Linked DNA regions of Homo sapiens: region 2 is linked to region 1. The links are contacts of gene promoters, found by promoter capture Hi-C in blood cells and fetal thymus (Javierre and others, 2016). All regions are on one chromosome and are shown on one strand. The core of a region is centred on a gene start or on the middle of the fragment in contact, and the rest is flanking DNA. Distances in the headings are between cores, read along the strand shown.

Evidence for each region. Contacts are between HindIII fragments. The CHiCAGO score rates a contact against its expected background, and 5 or more counts as called.
Region 2: a contact is called between the fragment with the promoter of KAT6A here and the fragment with the promoter of THAP1 in region 1, in 3 of 17 cell types (fetal thymus, total CD8 T cells and naive CD4 T cells). The highest score is 7.7, in fetal thymus.

What each region holds. Positions count from the first base shown.
Region 1 is chr8:42,841,939-42,845,129 of GRCh38, reverse strand. It overlaps THAP1 (THAP domain containing 1), which reads left to right and starts at 1,805. Exons shown (of 3, transcript NM_018105.3): 1 at 1,805-2,106. The coding sequence starts at 2,036. It overlaps LOC124901940 (a long non-coding RNA gene), which reads right to left and starts at 2,196. Exons shown (of 2, transcript XR_007060901.1): 1 at 1,747-2,196; 2 at 1-1,363. RefSeq lists enhancers at 1,727-2,086, 1,422-2,212 and a silencer at 2,117-2,206. The HindIII fragment of the contact is 1,565 bases long and covers 1,046-2,610 here.
Region 2 is chr8:42,050,513-42,053,613 of GRCh38, reverse strand. KAT6A (lysine acetyltransferase 6A) reads left to right here and starts at 1,627. Exons shown (of 17, transcript NM_006766.5): 1 at 1,627-1,713. It overlaps KAT6A-AS1 (KAT6A antisense RNA 1), which reads right to left and starts at 1,864. Exons shown (of 2, transcript NR_136589.1): 1 at 1,629-1,864. RefSeq lists enhancers at 493-1,013, 1,014-1,535 and silencers at 984-1,143, 1,334-1,963, 2,064-2,533. The HindIII fragment of the contact is 5,822 bases long and covers 1-2,834 here.

The sequences.
Region 1 (3,191 bases), core at 556-3,055:
CATTTAAAAGGGCAGGAAAGGTAGAGAATAAGGGCCAAGGGATTACTCAACAGTCCGCTCTCCAGGTCTGCCTGGCTCAGATCTATATAAAGAAAAGGAGCAGGGAATGAAGTAAAACTGTTACAGGAAAGGGGTCCCAATCCAGACCCCAAGACAGGGTTCTTGGATCTCACGCAAGACAGAATTCAGGGCAAGTCCACAGTACAAAGCAAAAGCAAGTTTATTAAGAACGTAAAGTGGTGAAAGTACAGCTACTCCACAGACAGAGTAGGGCATTCCCGAAAGTAAGAGGAGGAACGCGTCCACCCTAAGTACAACACTTAGTTTATATATAGGATAAAAAAAGATCATGGGGAGATGTGCTTTGCTACAAGGGTTTGTGATAAAGGATTAATTACTATATTATGTAAGAATCGATATTATCTTTATTTATGAGACAGAGTCTTACTCTGTCGCCCAGGCTGGAGTGCAGTGGTGCAAGCACGGCTCACTGCAACCCCCGCCTCCCGGATTCAAGCGATTATCCTGCCTCAGCCTCCAGAGTAGCTGAAATTCGAGGGCATGTGCCACCACACCCGGTTAATTTTTGTATTTTTAGTAGAGACGTTTTCACCATGTTGACCAGGCTAGTCTTGAACTCCTGACCTCAAGTGATCCGCCCGCCTCGGCCTTCCAAAGTGCTGGGATTACAGGCGTGAGGCACTGTGCCCAGCCCAATATTATTATCTTTAAAGCAAAATTAGGAATGCTTCTGTTCTCAAAATATCGGGATATCTGGACACTTGGTAGTCTGGGTCTGTGTAGTAAACATTATCAATCTGTTGCCTTAATGGTATACACATCTAGAGGCTAGGAATACCTAACTTCCCGGGAATGCAGCCCAGCAAGTCCCAGCCTCATTTTCCTAGCCCTCACTCAACACAGAGTCGCTCTAGTTCGAACCCCTCTAACATATTCTCTCTCAGGTGTGAAAATTGCTGCAGCAGTTCGCTATTTGCAACACAGCACATGGAAATCACAGCAATGGAGAGCCTTCAGAAAAGCTTCTGGGGAGGGACAGCCTGGTGGCTCAACTCCTGTAATCCCAACCCATGGGGAGGTCGAGATGGGAGGATCCCTTGAGCTCGAGTTCCAGACTGACCTGGGCAACGTGGGGAGACAACGCCTCTATTTATTTAAAAAATTACATATATATATATATATATACATACACACACACATATATACATACACACATATATACATACATATACATACATATATATAAAACGCTTCTGCGTTGGCAATTGAGATGATTTGGCGAGTGTGTCTTTTTTCATTGCTAAAAATCTGTCACGTTGGCTCTCACAGAAACTTGTGATACCTGAAGACACAGGTAATGGGATAAAGATTAGCACTCTGGGAAAAGGTTCCACAATTTTATTAATCATACACCATCTGTGTCCGCCCTTTTAAAGAAATGGGCGCAATCAGCCAACGACCTCGGCTTTACACCTGTTCTCCAAGAGGCCCTAGTTGTTCCCTACTGTAAGCTGCCCCAGAAAAGGTCCGCATCAATTAACCCACGGGAACAGCCCGGGGCTGGAGGATGCCCCAGGAATCCGGCCTCCCGCCGCGCCTCCTCCCCCCACAAGCAGTTCCTTCCTGCCTGCCGGAAGCTCAGGGCTCCGCCCACTTCGGCAACTCTGAAGCCACCGCCGGAAACACCTGGCCTCAGCCAATAGTTAGCTTCCCAGGAAACGTTACCTCTGACCTCGGGGCTAATCAGAGACAGTGGGACGCACCCCTCGCGAGAGGTGAGGTTGAAGCTGCCTCCGCCATCTTGGAGATGGGAGACGGGCGATGGCTGTGGTCCTTCTGCTAATGCAAACAACAAAACGGGCACACTAGTCACCCCCGAGGGAGGCCACCATCACTGTAACTGTTGGCCAAAGCTACAAAAGAAGCGAGGGAATCCAACCGAGCGCAGCGACACTGAGAACAGCTTCCCCTGCCTTCTGCGGCGGCAGAAGTGAAGTGCCTGAGGACCGGAAGGATGGTGCAGTCCTGCTCCGCCTACGGCTGCAAGAACCGCTACGACAAGGACAAGCCCGTTTCTTTCCACAAGTGAGGACCCTGCGCGCCTCGCGGGGCCGGTCTCAGCCGGGGTGGGGGCGCGCGGCCGGCGGGGCCGGGGGCGGAGCCAGGCGCGTGTCCGCGCGAGGGGCGGGTGGGGTCTGGGGCCGGCCGTGTCGGGCGTTTCCCACCGCGTCCCGCTGGGAACCGCCGCCCGATCGCGCGTTCTCGGCGCGCGTCGCCGCGGCAGCCGTTTCTCGCGCTCCTGGAACAGGCCCTGGTTGCAGGCTTCGCTCACGGCCTGGGTTGACGCGTTCGGAGCCCACGGGCGATGCCTAGGGTGGCGCGGGTTTTGCCACCACCAGGGTCACAGAGCAGCCAGGTGTTTTAATATGGTCTTAGGGGTAAATTTAAAATAGAAACAAAGGCCTTTAAACGAAGAAATCACTACTTTTCGCCCTTGCCGTGGATGGGAGGCCAGCATCGTAGCAATTAAGGGTTTTTTGGCTGGGAAATCAGGGAGAATTTTTGCCCCCAATCTCTAGGAACTAAGCTTTAAGGACCCTGTATTTTGGAGAAAGCTTCAGGTACTGCCGAGATAAATCGTTATCTTTTCAGCACACAATAATGATAATATGGACAGTTACAACATGGATCATAATAAAATGACTCACACGGATCTTTATTTATTATGGCATTACCTGTGCATAGAGAAAGCTCTTTCGAAAGAAACTGCCCCACAGCTTTCAGAGCTGTCTTATCCAGTAGGTAGCACAGTTAAGTGATAGGATCAAAAATATTCTCTTGAAAATAGGAAAAAAGTGCAGAGTTGTAATTACTTATGATAAACGCTTGTAAAATGTGACATAACATTTTCATTCAGCTGAATTTGTTTACAAATTTTAATTACATTTATGTTAAGTTTTCTTTGCAAGAATTCCTGACAGCTATACGCAGATGATAGGTAAGAAATCAGATCCAGGGGTAAACTATACAGATTAGCCATAGGTAATTAGCTAATTATCTTTTATAATTAGGTAAATAATTACAAAAGCAAAATGTTAAATATCTTTTCAGTTAATTTATTTTTTTGCTGTGGGGCCATCTGTGTTTACTAGGGGAGTGTCCATGCATTT
Region 2 (3,101 bases), core at 378-2,877, 790 kb after region 1:
ATATCACATGTAAGTGCAAAATGACTAGAGCAAATGATACTACTACAGAAGTTCAGAAAAGGAAGTCAGCATGGAAGTTAAGGCAGTGGGTGAGAGGGAGGCCCTTAAAAGCTAAAGCTGAGATAAAATGAGGTATTGCGGGCGACAGTCTAGGCGGGGTGTGTCGTATGGGGTTGGGGACAGGGCAGATAAAGGTCAGGCAGCAGGATACACGTCCATGTCAACGATTAAACATTTAGTGTCTTTTTCATGTCTACTGTCTTTCTAGTGAATGCAGAAAAAAAAAAAATGCATGACTTGGCCAGGTGCAGTGTCTCAGGCCTGTAATCCCAGCACTTTGGGAGGCCGAAGAGGGCGGATCACTTGAAGTCAGGAGTTCGAGACCAGCGGCCTGGCCAACATAGTGACACCCCGTCTCTACTAAAAATACAAAAATAAGCCAGGCGTGGTGGCGGGCGCCTGCAGTCCCAGCTACTCAGGAGGATGAGGTAGGAGAATCGCTTGAACCCAGGAGACGGAGGTTGCAGTGAGCCAAGATCGCACCACTTGCACTCCAGCCTGGGCAACAGAGCGACACTGTCTCAAAAAAAAAAAAAAAAGTATGACTCAGTCTCTGCATCAAAGAGTTTAAAGTAGATGAAAGGCAAGACAAAGAAACGTCCATACAGCCAGTAGTGGACAGGCAGGCCATGAAGAACCGCCTGCTCGTGGTTCCAACGCCCTAAGTATGGACAAGAGTTCCGCACAGGGCAAGAAGGGAAGACCGGCTTTGGAATAAGACAAATCTCAGTCCCAGGCTCAGGTGCGCGCCACATACTAGCTGTGTGACCTTGTCCAAGTCACACGACCCAGGTCTGTGGAGTCTCCCATAAAATGGCTCTAGTGAGCTCCAAGAACCCTCTCAGCTGCTGGGGGAGGGAAGAAATGAAGTCACTGCTGAAAGGGGTTAAGACGGGTGCTTCTGGTTCCACCCTCTCCCCAACTCTTCCCACCGACACAGGAGAGCCGTCGGGGGCTGAGGCGAGCTGCCAGGGGTGAGGACGGGAAGCCGCCTCCTCTCCGCCCCCCAGGCCCCGCCCTCGGGCTCCGGAAAGTCGCTGTGCAGGCAAATGAGTGGGGAGGGAGGGCTCACTAACTGTAAACAGACGCCGCCGAGAGTTCCCATCCTGCGTGGCTGCCGGATTTCCGTGCCACACTGAAGCCACCCCACCCAGACTCCTGCCCTCAGTTTCCCCAGCGGTGGCATGGGGTGCACCAGCTCCTCCTCTCCCGGGTCGCCGTCTGACTTAAACGCGTGAGACGGGAGAGGAGGAACCCCCGCTCCCCAGCCTCCAGCCCCACCAAGTCCTCCTCCTCCCCTGGCTTTGGCCTTTTGTACCGGCCCCACGTGACCCCGCCGGCCGGCTCTTCCCTGCTGCCCCGCCCCGCCCTCCGGCCTTTCCCGGCTCTCGGCCCAGCTCTTCCCGCTCTCGGCCGCCCCCCACCCGCGCTGCCGGGCCTCCGCCTCCCCTCGCCGCCCGCCCAGGCTCTTCCAGCTCCCTCCCCCAGGCCGCCGTTCCCTCGCGACGCTCCCCTCCCCCCGCGGCTGTTCCGCCGCCTTGCCTCCCCTCCCCCCGGCTGGAGCTCACTGTCTCCAAGATGGCGGCCGTGTCAGTTTGGGGCATCTCCGCGGTCCGGCCCGGGGCCCCGGGATCTCGGCTGTCCTTCCTCCCGGTAAGTAGCCGAGGGGCCGTTCCCGGCCGCCCCCGGCCGCCCAGCCCGAGGCCGAGCCGCTCCAGGGCCCACTCCGCTGCCTCGCGGGGTCGGCGGGCCGCTGCAGGCCCCGCCGCGGCCTGCGCCGCCTCCCGCTGCTCTGCGCCAGGCCTCGGGCTGGGGCGCCGTGGCCGCCCCCTCGCGCCCGCCCGCTCGCTCGCTCGCTTGCTCGCTTGTTCGGCGCCCGGCTGCCCCGGCCCGCGGCCCGCGCGCCGCCGCCCGGCCCCGCGCTCGCGGGCCCCGCGCCCCCGATCCCGCCGGCCGGGCCCGCCCTGGGGGAGCCGGCGGGTGGGCGGGCGGCGAGCGGCCCAGGCCGCGGAGCCTCGGGCTGGCGGAGCCGGCGAGCCCGCTCTCCCTCGGGGCGCGCCCACCCGCCCGCCGCGCGCGTGCCGGCTGTGCCGGGCCGGGCCGCTTCTCCCCGCGCTCGCGGGCGCTCGGGTTCGGGCTCGGGCTCGGGTTCCGGCTCCGGCTTTGGCTCCGGCCGGGGGCGCGGGGATCCGAGCGGGGCTGAGGCGGCGAGCGGGGCTGACAGGCCGGCGGGTGTTGTGGTGCGAGGCGCAGCACGTGTGGTGTTGTGTCTGCCGGGCTGTCAGCCCAGCCGCCGAGGGGAGGCCGGGCGCCTGTCAACCTCGCGGCTTGGCCCGGTGCGCGACTGTCAGGCTCCCAGCAACCCGCGCCGCCCTCGAGCCGGCCCCCAGAGCTTAGGGTGCGGAGCTGGGCCGGGGCTATGCACCGCTCTGAACTCCTTCACGTGATTTCATTGTTAACTTGTGCTCGGGGTCTGTTTCCATCGCGTGGAAACGGTGCAGCGCCCCGTCGGCGAGCTGCCGGGCTGTGCAGATCCAAGTTTTTAAAGTTTCTCGCTCTTTGAAAAGAGAGCGCGAAGACGTGTTTAGGGGTGGGGAATGGGGACGGGAAGGACTGTCGGAAGCGAGTTGCGCTCGCTCTAGCCGCTCGTGTACTTTCCGGGAGTTAAGATCCGAGGCTGCAGGCGCTTGACTTTCCGAAGACCTGGAGACTGATGACAATCCCGACTGGAAAGACAATGAGTGACTGTCACTCATTCTTTTACCTGCGAAGCTTAGTCAATTAGGACGTTCGTTCCCAGCTTGTTAAACTCAGGATGTAGCTTCTCATTTAGTTTAGACTTAATATCTGTATAATGAGCTTACTTGGAGTAATGATACTCTGATTTCTATCCTCTTGAGACCCTCACCAAATTGAAGCATGATTCTCCCAGGGGGCTTCTTTTTAGGCAGCTGATTTAAAAACAAATCTTGGCTCAGGTTTGAATGTTTGCTTCACTCTTTTCTTTCCTATCAGAGTTAATAGTAATATCTCTTTCCTAG